3 separate regions of the Homo sapiens genome follow, and all the other regions are linked to region 1. Evidence: promoter capture Hi-C in human tissues and cell types (Jung and others, 2019). All regions are on one chromosome and are shown on one strand. Each heading gives the region's core, a stretch centred on a gene start or on the middle of the fragment in contact. The rest is flanking DNA. Distances are from core to core; before and after follow the strand shown.

What was found. Contacts are between HindIII fragments. The study calls those that stand out against the background at their distance.
Region 2: a fragment that was not itself captured here is called in contact with the fragment with the promoter of LENEP in region 1 in 1 of the 25 tissues and cell types used here (IMR-90 fibroblasts).
Region 3: a contact is called between a fragment that was not itself captured here and the fragment with the promoter of LENEP in region 1, in 1 of the 25 tissues and cell types used here (liver).

Annotation. Positions count from the first base shown.
Region 1 is chr1:154,991,232-154,994,942 of GRCh38, reverse strand. LENEP (lens epithelial protein) reads right to left here and starts at 1,357. Exons shown (of 1, transcript NM_001394530.1): 1 at 628-1,357. The coding sequence starts at 1,335. The coding sequence ends at 1,150. It overlaps FLAD1 (flavin adenine dinucleotide synthetase 1), which reads right to left. Exons shown (of 7, transcript NM_025207.5): 6 at 2,157-2,230; 7 at 1,832-2,041. The coding sequence ends at 1,906. The HindIII fragment of the contact is 8,242 bases long and covers 1-3,711 here.
Region 2 is chr1:154,655,987-154,659,659 of GRCh38, reverse strand. No RefSeq gene overlaps it. Among named protein-coding and RNA genes, the nearest start is that of ADAR, 50 kb to the right of the region's middle. The HindIII fragment of the contact is 9,513 bases long and covers 1-3,673 here.
Region 3 is chr1:154,490,657-154,494,109 of GRCh38, reverse strand. All of the region lies in intron 2 of SHE (Src homology 2 domain containing E), which reads left to right. Among named protein-coding and RNA genes, the nearest start is that of TDRD10, 9.8 kb to the left of the region's middle. The HindIII fragment of the contact is 7,313 bases long and covers 1-3,453 here.

The DNA of each region.
Region 1 (3,711 bases), core at 108-2,607:
TGGGGGGCTGTGGGTGGGCAGATCAGTAAGCATAAGCACCCCCTGAGCAAGACGATACACATGGCTGGTGTATATCTACCACCGGGAGTAACTCATGGAAAATACCAGCTGTGGCTACCAAGAGGAAGTAAAGAGCCAATTCTGCTCAATCTAGCTGTTTATGTCCTGATAGGGCTGTGTCATGATAAGCCTGAGGGACCTGTGTGGCCACACAGGTGTCTTTCTCTGGTAACTTTGTATGTGAGCTGGGAGCTCTTGTAGCTCATGGGGTCCTACTTCCTTGATGAGCTGGGGACTAGCCTCAGCGCAGTGCTTTCCCCAAGATCCTCAGAGGCAGGAAGCTGCCTGGACCAGGTCTTCTATTTGGGAAAGGGCTGGGTCCTCTGGGTTTCCACACACCCTTGGCCTCACAGATGAAGACCCTACTCAAGCTGGGTCCCCTCCTTACCCACAGATTGAGAGGAACCTGAACTGTCTTCCACCCTCCCCACTCAGGAACCAGTGAGTCAGAAAACCTGGCTTTCAATCTTGGTTCTATTCAGGACAAGCTCCTTCCCTCCCTGGTCTGCACCCTTGCTCCCAGACCGTTCTAGTGCTGACTTTTTCTGATTCCCCTTTAGACACTTATAATCTTGGGCCTCAAGGCCTATGGATTATATTTATAATTCAGTGATTCTCAAACAGGTTTCTTAGGGGGCAGTCCATTCTTGGTACTATGAGGGTATGGTAAGATCAACCATCTGAGCTGGTGGGCTCACTGTGCCAAGCTTGGAGGAGTGCCAGGTCTTGCCACAATCTTACTGGGGTCCTAGCCAGAGCAGTCCAAGCTCCTGCCCACCAGAGGTCCACCAGAGGCAGGGGTTGGGAATGAAGGAGGCTCAGAGATGAGGCAGGTCTGCTAGATGACACAGCTCAAAGCAGGATCCACACTTTACTGTTTACTCATTGTTTATGGCCCATCCTTGGTCAAGCACAGCTGGCTTCAGGAGTCTTGATGGCAATTGGGCTGGGGGCTAAAGAAGAGAATGAGAAGCTAAGGCAAGCTCTGCCACAGAAGCTGCAGCTATGCCTCCTGTTTACTCTACCCTGCCCACCTGAGCGATGCCAGCCATGGTGCTGGTGGGGAGAGGAGGCAGTTCCCTGCTACCATTAATCCAGCAGTTCCTTGATACACCAGCAGCAGAGGAGGATGTAGGCGACTTCCTTCAGGGTCCGCTGGAAGCCCTCCCACCCTGTGCCCATCTTAATGACAGGCACCCGCAGCCCAGTGTCTCGAGGGGCCCCTCCGAGGAAGAAGGGTAGGGTTTGGGCTAGGGGCTGTGTCCGGGGCTGCATGTGGGCAACAGTTCCGAGGAAGGGTGTGGGAGCTGCCTCTAGTGCCTTTTATCAACACTGTCCCCACCCCCTTCAGCCTCATGACTACAGAGACAAAGGATCCAGGGTCTAGCAAAGGGAAGGTTCTAGGCCTGGGAACAGGCTGAGTCAGCCCCTCTAGACAGGGATGGGAGGGTGGGGTTAGTGGGAGGGAGGGCCTGGCCACTCCATCTTTCATCCTCCACAGCTAGGCCAAGGCAGCTTCCCCTCTTCCAGCCCAGGTGGTGCCCTGCCTGATTGCCCTTTTCCCAGTGGTTGGCACAACTCCTGCTTTCGCCCTCTGGTGGGCTCCTGCTGAGGCTGACATTGAGAACCATCAGTGAGAGCTCCTTTCCAGCCTGTTCTGCCCTGCCCCTGGGCCCCTTAGAGTGAGCACAGCCAGTCAGAGCTGGCAGCATTTGACCCACTTCTGCTTCTCCCATCCTCTGGAGCAGGAAGACACAGCTAGAGCAACAGGCACAGTGAGAGGCACGGTTTATTGCCAGGTTATACCCTAGGACGGTGTCCTTCCCTCCCTCCTAGGGTGGGAGGTCATGTGCGGGAGTTCCGCTCCTCTTCTTCGTTCTCCAGTAGATAGGCTGGACGGTATGTGGGGTGTCCTCCTGGGCTCAGGCACTTCAGGGCCGGGTTCCGCACGGTATTCTCCCGACTCCCCAGTGATGTGTATCTGGAGCAGGGAGGGTGGAGGGCAAGCATGTGGTAGGGTGGGCGATCCTATTGGCCCTCCCTATCCCAGCACCCTAAAAACTCCCTTACCCATTCCCTTCCCCTAATACCCTTACCCTCGGTCATACAGGATACAGTATGGGACAAACAGCTGACGCAGAAAATCCCAGATGTCTCTGTAGGTCCAGTCCTGGGAGGTCAGAGTAATAGAATAGTCACAAATGCTCACCTTTCCCACTTCTACCCCTGCTGTCCTGGGAAGGGGCCCATCCATGGCTCTTCTGCTCCCTTGGCCTCTGAGGGAGGGCTTGCTATCTGATTCTCTGGTATAGCTTGCTCTATGTATGCAAAGAGAAAGAGAAGGACTTCATCTTCTCCACTCTCTGCTTTCCATTCTTGAACCACCCTCTAGTGCAAGGGTGGAGCTTGAGGACAGGGAGAAACCGTCTATTTTTTTTTTGAGACGGAGTCTGGCTCTGTCGCCCAGGCTGGAGTGCAGTGGCGTGGTCTTGGCTCACTGCAACCTCTGCCTCCCGGGTTCATGCCATTCTCCTGCCTCAGCCTCCCGAGTAGCTGGCACTACAGGCGCCCACCACTGTGCCCAGCTAATTTTTTGTATTTTTAGTAGAGACGGGATTTCACTGTGTAGCCAGGATGGTCTCCATCTCCTGACTTCATGATCCGCCCGCCACGGCCTCCCAAAGTGCTGGGATTACAGGCGTGTGCCACCATGCCCGGCCCTATTTTTTTTTTTTTTTTTGAGACGGAGTCTTGCTCTGTCACCCAGGCTGGAGTGCAGTGGCGCGATCTTGGCTCACTGCAACCTCCGCTTCCCAGATTTAAGCAATTCTCCTGCCTCAGCCTCCTGAGTAGCTGGGATTACAGGCATGCGCCACCACAGCCGGCTAATTTTTGTATTTTTTTAGTAGAGATGGGGTTTCACCATGTTGGTCAGGCTGGTCTTGAAATCCTGACCTCGTGATGTGCCTGCCTCGGCCTCCCAAAGTGCTGGGATTACAGGCGTGTGCCACCGTGCCCAGCCCTATTTTTTTTAGACAGGGCCTTTACTGTTGCCCAGGCTGGAGTGCACTGGCATGATCATGGCTCACTACAGCCTCGACTTCCCTGGCTCAAGCGATCTTCCCGCCTCAGCCTGAGTAGCTGGGACTACAGGCATTGATCAGCCCACCTCGGCCTCCCAGAGTGCTGGGGTTACAGGTGTGAGCCACTGTGCCTGGCCAGAACTTCCTGTGATGATGGAAATGTTCTGTATCTCTACTGTCTAATATGGTGGTCATTTGAAATGTGGCTAGTACAACTGAATAACTGTATTTTTTTTTTGTTTGTTTGGACGGAGTCTCACTCTGTTGCTCAGGCTGGAGTATAGTGGTGCCATCTTGGCTCACTGCAACCTCTGCCTCCTGGGTTCAAGTGATTCTCCTACCTCAGCCTCCTGAGTAGTTGGGATTACAGGTGCCTGCCACCACGCTCCGCTAATTTTTGTATTTTTAGTAGAGACTGGGTTTCATCATTTTGGTTAGGCTGGTCTCGATCTCCTGACCTCAGGCGATCCACCTGCCTCAGCCTCCCAAAGTGCAGGGATTACAGGTGTAAGCCACTACGCCCGGCCTGTGTATGTGTGTGTGTATATATATATATACATATATATAT
Region 2 (3,673 bases), core at 516-3,015, 340 kb after region 1:
AGCCCCAGTAACCTATCACTATCAACTATTTTATAAACCAAAAGGCAAAGCTTAGTGCCCTTGCAAGCTGGAGAATTGGTTGTAAAATCTTCCATAAAGTCAGGGCCCCCAAAGGGCTATCCTCTCAGTGAAAGAATGAACTAGAAAGAAAAGCCTGTCTCATAAAGGAGAAGGACATACCTCTGAATAAAATGAAATAAAATCTCCCCCAAAATAACTCATAAGCATTAAGTTGTCCTTCACAAAGCATTGGTGCCAAAATTCATGCTACCTGTTTGGTCAAAACAATTCCAAGCCAAGAATGTAAAGTGGTCCCAAGTTTGGTGTGTCCCTAATGTACTTAGCAGAGGAAAAACAAATCCTTTCTAATGGAATACACCTTTAATGTAAATTTTGAAGATTATTCACAGGTGCAGTTCCAACAAACATGAGATCACAATGAAAATTACAGGATACATATGAGGAAAAGACACCATGTGAGAAAGTCAGCAGAGAGGCCGGGCGCAGTGGCTCACGCCTGTAATCCCAGCACTTTGGGAGGCCGAGGGGGGCAGATCACGAGGTCAGGAAATCGAGACCATCCTGGCTAACACAGTGAAACCCTGCCTCTACTAAAAATACAAAAACAAAATTAGCCGGGCGTGGTGGCAGGCGCCTGTAGTCCCAGCTACTCGGGAGGCTGAGGCAGGAGAATGGCGTGAACCTGGGAGGTGGAGCTTGCAGTGAGCTGAGATAGCGCCACTGCACTCCAGCCTGGGCGACAGAGCGAGACTCCATCTCAAAAAAAAAGAAAAAGAAAAAGAAAGAAAGTCAGCAGAGAAATTAACAGCAAAATCAGACTCGCAAAGACTTCAGCATTGACGTGACCATATGAAGTAAAACAAATGAGGAATTGACAGGTTTTTAAGAAGATTTTAAAACATGATAGAGGAACAAGACTATAAAAATGACCTTGATATGAAAAAATGTCAAACATAAATTGTAGAAATAAAAAACAAAATTGCCGAAATTAAGACTTCAACACCGAAAAGGTTGGAAATTAATAACTTTAAATGCTTATAATTTAAAAAGTAGAGAGAATAAAAATAATGAGCTAAATCTCCAACTTGGGAAATCAGAAAAAGAACAGCAGAATAACCATGAGGAAAGTAGTAGGAAGAAAAAAATAACAATAAGTAGAGAAAGTAATGAAACTGAAAACGGAGGATCAACAAAGCCAAAATTGATTCTTTGAAGTTGAAAGACTTCTGGAAAAATTTAAGAGACAGAGATAAACAGCATGTACAGATAAGCAATACTGAAAACTGAAAACGAGATAAAAATCTATAACTATGGTTATAGTGAACATTTAAACATAAAAGTATAAACAAATCAATGCTAATAATTCAAAACTTAGATGATATGGAAAACGTCCTAGAAAATATAATTTACCAAAACAGATTCAAGACTAGAAAGGCAGAATGAATAGCTCTATAATAATTAAAGAAATTCAATCAGTATTTAAAGTGTTCCCGCAAAGAAAATACCAAGCCCTGATATTTTCCAGGTGAGTTATATGAAATTTTCAAGGAGAAGATCATTCCAATCTTATAGGAGTTTTTGTGGACGATAGAAAAAGAGAGAATACTTGCCAGCTCAGTTTTGGAGGCATCTCTCGCTATTTCTGTGAGGTCTTTACACATGATCTCTCTAGTATGGTGGCTTCAGGGTAGCTAGACTTCTTATGTGTTGGCTCAGGTCTCCCAAGATGCTTGGAGAGGGTGTGTGTACGTGTGGAGAGAGATAGAGACAGAAACGCACACACACACACACACACACACACACAGAGAGAGAGAGAGAGAGAGAGAGAGAGACATGATATGAGAAGTGCTAGCCTTAGACTTGCTTTAGCCAATGCAGAGTGAGCAGAAGTGACAGACTCCCAGCCAGAAGCCTAAGAGCCAGTGCATGCTTCTCCAAGTTCCCTTTTCCCTCCACAACTGGCAATGTTCTACAGTAGCTTCCCTTTCAGGCTGAGCCTCAAAGTAAGAATGATGAAAATGTGGAACATTCTAAGGATTTTAGAAGGTGAAAAAACAGATAGAAAAAAATTAAAATGTGGAATAGAGCCCCCTGACTCATGATGAACATGTAGCATGAGGAAGAAATAAACTTTTTTGGTTGTTTTATTGCCATAACACAACCAGTCTTTCCTGACTGGTATGGGCACCTGGGAATAATTGCAGTACTGATACAAAGAAGATCATGATGCTTTATTGAAATACATTAAGAAGAATTAAGTAAAAAGAGAGAAATATTATCAATGGCTAGAAAGTCTCAATATCCTAAATTCTCACCCAAATGTCTCATAGATTCAGTGCCATTTCTATCAAAACTTTAAAGTGTTTTTCATAATTTTGACAAGCCAATTCTAAAATATATGTGAAAGAGCAAAGAGCCAAGATGATCCAAGGTACTCTCTAAAAAAGAATAAAATCAGCAATTACATTCTTGGGCATTTATCCCAGAGATATGAAAAGTTATAGTCACCCAAAACCTATGCTCAGATGTTTATAGCCACTTTATTCATAACATCTCAAAACTGAAAATAGCCCAAGTATACTTCAATGGGCGAGTGGTTAAGCAAACTGGTATATCCATACCATGGACTAGGATTCAGTCATAAAAAGGAATGGGCTATTAATACGTGTAACAATCTAGATGAATCTCATGGGAATTATGCTGAGTTGAAAAAAAAAAGCCTATCTCAAAAGGCTACATACAGTATTATTTCATTTATATAACATTACTTAAATAACAAAATTATAGAGATGGAGAACACGTTAATTGTTGTCAAGAATTAGGAATGAGGGGAAGGGGGACTGGTTGTGGCTATAAAGGGGTAGCACAAGGGAGCCTTGCAATGATGAAGCTGTTCTTTATCTTGATTTTGGTGGTGGTTACACAAATATATACACATAATAAATTTGATACAAGACATGAATATAGACACCCAAGAAGTAAAATAAACTAAAGAGACCCACTCTGAGACACATTGTAATCAAACTTTTGAAAGACAAAGAGAGAATCTTGAAAGCAGAAAGAAAAAAGCAACTTGTCACACACAAGGGATCCTAATTAAGATTATCAGAGAACTTCTCATGAGAAACTTTGGAGTCCAGGAAGCAGCTGGCCAATATATTTGAAGTGCTAAAAGAAAAAAAAAATGTTAACCACGAATCCTACATCCAGCAAATGCATCCTTCAAAAGTGAAGGAGAAATTAAGACATCTCAAGATAACCAAAGCTAAGAAAGTTTATTACCAGTAGATCCACCCTACAAGAAATGCTCAAAGGGGTCCTGCAAGGCAAAATGAAAAGACACTAGACAGTAACTCAAAGCTGTATGAAGAAATAAAGATTTCAATAAAGGCAAACGCATAAGAAATCATAAAAGCCAGTATTATCGTAAAAATGGCTTATAACTCCACTTTTTATTTTCTATGTGATTTAAGAAATTATTAGTCTAAATGTTATTATAACTTTGGTTTGTACTTCACATTTTGTTTTCTACATAATGTAAGAGACTAATAAATTTAAAATAATTATAACTTTATGTTTTGGGGCACACAATGTATAAAGACACGATTCTGTGATATCAACAACCAAAAGGGGTGGGGAGAGAATGGTAAAG
Region 3 (3,453 bases), core at 34-2,533, 500 kb after region 1:
CTTAAGAGGCTCCAAGTTTAATGTTTTGGAAACATGAAATGGGTTAAAATGGATTAGGGGAAAAGGCACATTATTTGGAAATTGGAATTAACATTTTACGTGAAATCATTTGAGCATAAAGCATGGACTCTGGAGTTGGTAATAATTGGCCTCACCATAACTGCTGCATGACTGTGGCTTCCGTGTATTCACCTGTGAAAATGGGGTAACACATCTGTCACTGCCTTAGTGAGGCATCAGTGAGATTCTGGGCATAATACACCTAGCAGGTGTATACCTAGTCAGTACAGCCGTGAGTTAGACACTCCAGAGACAATTATATTTCCAAAGAGCATTCTGGACCATATAGGGCAATACTTATTGCTAACTACAGTTAATTTAGTAAAAGAAAATCTTAGTCTTCTGCTAAGACTTTCTTGTTTTTGTGTTTTCATGTGAATGACATAATTACCTGCAGCGAGTTGGGGATTGAGAAGGGAAAATTTTGGGCCCCTATAATGTTTCACACCAACCAACTGCATGTTTTTAGTAGGTGCAGGTCAGTGCTGAGCTTCAGCCCCAGGCTGCAAATGAGTGTTTATCTGCTGCCCGTCCCCTGCATTCTGTTGTCTGCTGTGGTAAATGGCCTCTATCGGCAGCCAGGGTGTAGCTTCCTCTTGCCATTTCCTCCTTCTCAGGCTCGTTTCCTCTTGGAGCCAGCTCTGCACGTCAGGGGCTATTCTCCCTGCAGGAAGGGTCGGCTTGCAGCCCCACGATTGTTTCTGTTTCTATGGCGCCTCAGGTTTGGGGGCAGCCAGGTGTTGGAATGGACTGGAAGGTTACTCCCCTTGAAGAGGGGGGTGGTGTGGGGAGGGGAGGCCTGTGCTCAAGCCCTTTCTTCCCCTAATTAAACATTGTTTCAAAAGATGATAGCAGTTTGCAGATTTTGCCTAATCCCAGGACCCTGCAAGAAAGCATTCTCAACTCCATGCTTTGTGTATCTCCCAGAACTCTAAGTGTGGGGAGACTGTCTAAATAGAAGGACCTCGTTGCAAAAGTAAAAACTCAAACGCGTGTGTAATAAGAACTCAAGATTCTAATCACTATACATCATTTTATTTTATTTTAGGGGAGGTGGGCTGGAAGGCCCGGTAGGAACACTGCCCATCCACCCTGTACATTTTAATCCAAATGTATTGAAATGTCCTTGTGAGCAGGGCTCCTTCTGTCTTAATGTTAGAATCACCTCTTTTTCCTTTTAGTTTAGCTGGGGCAGAATTGCAGCAAGGACCTTGGGAAAGGGTTTCCCCAGCCTGTGCCAGATGGTCTCAACTGAGTGTAAACTATGATTAGAAACCTTAAAATTGTATTCTATATTCATCCTTTGAACTCCTTTGTGTTTTCTGCTTCCCTTTTCTTAGTTCTTTAGAAAAGTTCCTTTTAAAAAAATTACAGCCTTGTCTTAATTGAACCAAGAACAGAGTATGTTTTTGTTTCTTGTTTTCCATAGCTCTGTTTGGAGTAAGCAAGGAAGAAGAAAAACTGTAGGACTGAGAGTCCAGGGACTCAGGAGATGCAGCTCTGACCTCAGACAACCCCAGATACCTGGCCTGGCCTGGGGGTGGGGGCCAGGGACAGTTCTTCCGACTCTTACATTCTGATGTGGAAGTGGTAGACACAGGCAGTACCTTTCTCCTCAGGATGGGACTAGCAATGACAGGCTCCGGAGAATGAGGAACCAAGATGGGGACTGTGGACACCCAGGAGGTGTGGAAGTGGTTCTCAGGTTTAGCTGCTCTTTAGAATCACCTGGGGGATTTTTACACTCTTGACTCCCACACTGTACCCCAGACTAATCCAATCTGAACCTCTGGTGGTTAAAGCAGTGTGTGTGAAAGCCCGCGGGTGATTTCAATGAGCTGTCCCTGCACAGAATTTGAGACAGCTGCTGACAGCCCCTAGTCAGCAGAGAACTATAACCTCAGCCTATACCTAAGTTTTGCACTTTTGAATTTGGTGTCCTGATTTTAATAACGTTTCCCTCATTTGTTGCCCTCTTTTTGTTATAGAGGTCTTAATGAGTCAGTGGCATTTCTCCACGGACCATCCCCACACCTGTTTTGAAGTTACAGATAGAAAGTCTTTCCACCCTTTGTGTCTGCGGCCCTGCGGTCTCCTGAGCCTCTTCCTCCTCACCTGACCCCTCAGCCTTCTTTGCTGGCACCTCCTTCCAGCCACCCATAACTGAAGGAGTCCCAGATTCTGCCTTTGATCCTCTCTCGTTTTCAATCTGCCGTCCTTTTCTCTTGTGATTGCTTTCATTCTCACAGTATTCACAACGATCCATTTGTTAACCCCTTGACGTATTCCTCCAGATCCACACTGTCACCTGCCTGGAGACATTCTTGAGTTCCCTCCCCTCCCTCTCTCCTCCCATCCATCCATCCAGTCATTATTTAGCACAATGATATGTCCTACAGTAATAAACAAGATATGGTGGTCTCTGCCCTGGCAGACTCCACCAAATTGAAAATACAGACACATCAACATATAAATGGATGCAGTGGGAGAAGAGCAGGGTGAGAGTGCGTTGGTCCAGCCGTGGCACCTGTTTAACTTTGTGGGGTATCAGAGAAGAAGGTGGGCAGGAAAGCCTTCTCCGGAGAGGAGAAGATGCTGAGTTAGATTGTAAAGGATTGCAAGATCGCCAGGACACCGGTGGGCTCAAGACAGTGTAGTATGCAGGGAACTGCCAGAAATTCCACTTGGTCAGAGCAAAGAATTGGATTATGGGGAGATGGGGCAGGGTAGTGTTGAGAAATTGGGGAGAAAGACAGTGACCTACTCATGTAAGCCTCCCATGCCGTTCTCAGTGTTCTTCACTTCTTAAGTAAACAGTCGGGAGCTTATGAGGTGTTAAGAGATGAGGTATCTGCATATAGAAAGTTCCTCCTTGACTATGACCAGGTAGAGGATGGTTTGAAGGCTTCCTGATGGGCGTTTAGAAGAGCCACAAAATGACATTTCTGTTGGTCTATAATATAGACTCTGTATCACCAGCTCTGGTTGTCCAGACTCCAGCCATCTCTAACTCTGGCAAGGCTCCTTGACCCCAGGCTGCTCACCACCCTGTACTGCTAGTTCCTTCTCACTGTGGCTGGTTGGCTGGTTAGATAGCTAGTGGTTGGTTGGTTTGCATATGGTTTTTTCCATCTATTTTTATGCCCCATTTCAGACTATACCTTTTTGATTTACTCTATCCTGTACACCATGGTTAGAGTTACCTTCCAGTGAAACACAAATATAATTGTTATTCCCCACTGAAAAAAAAAAAAACCTTATAATGGTTTTGTTTTACATACACAACCATCTAAACTTTGTGTCCTTACTTTTAAAATGTCTACACCTTGGCACCTGGCTTGCCTATGCTTCCAGCTGCTTCTCCCATTACCCATTGCCTCTCTCCTTTGTGGC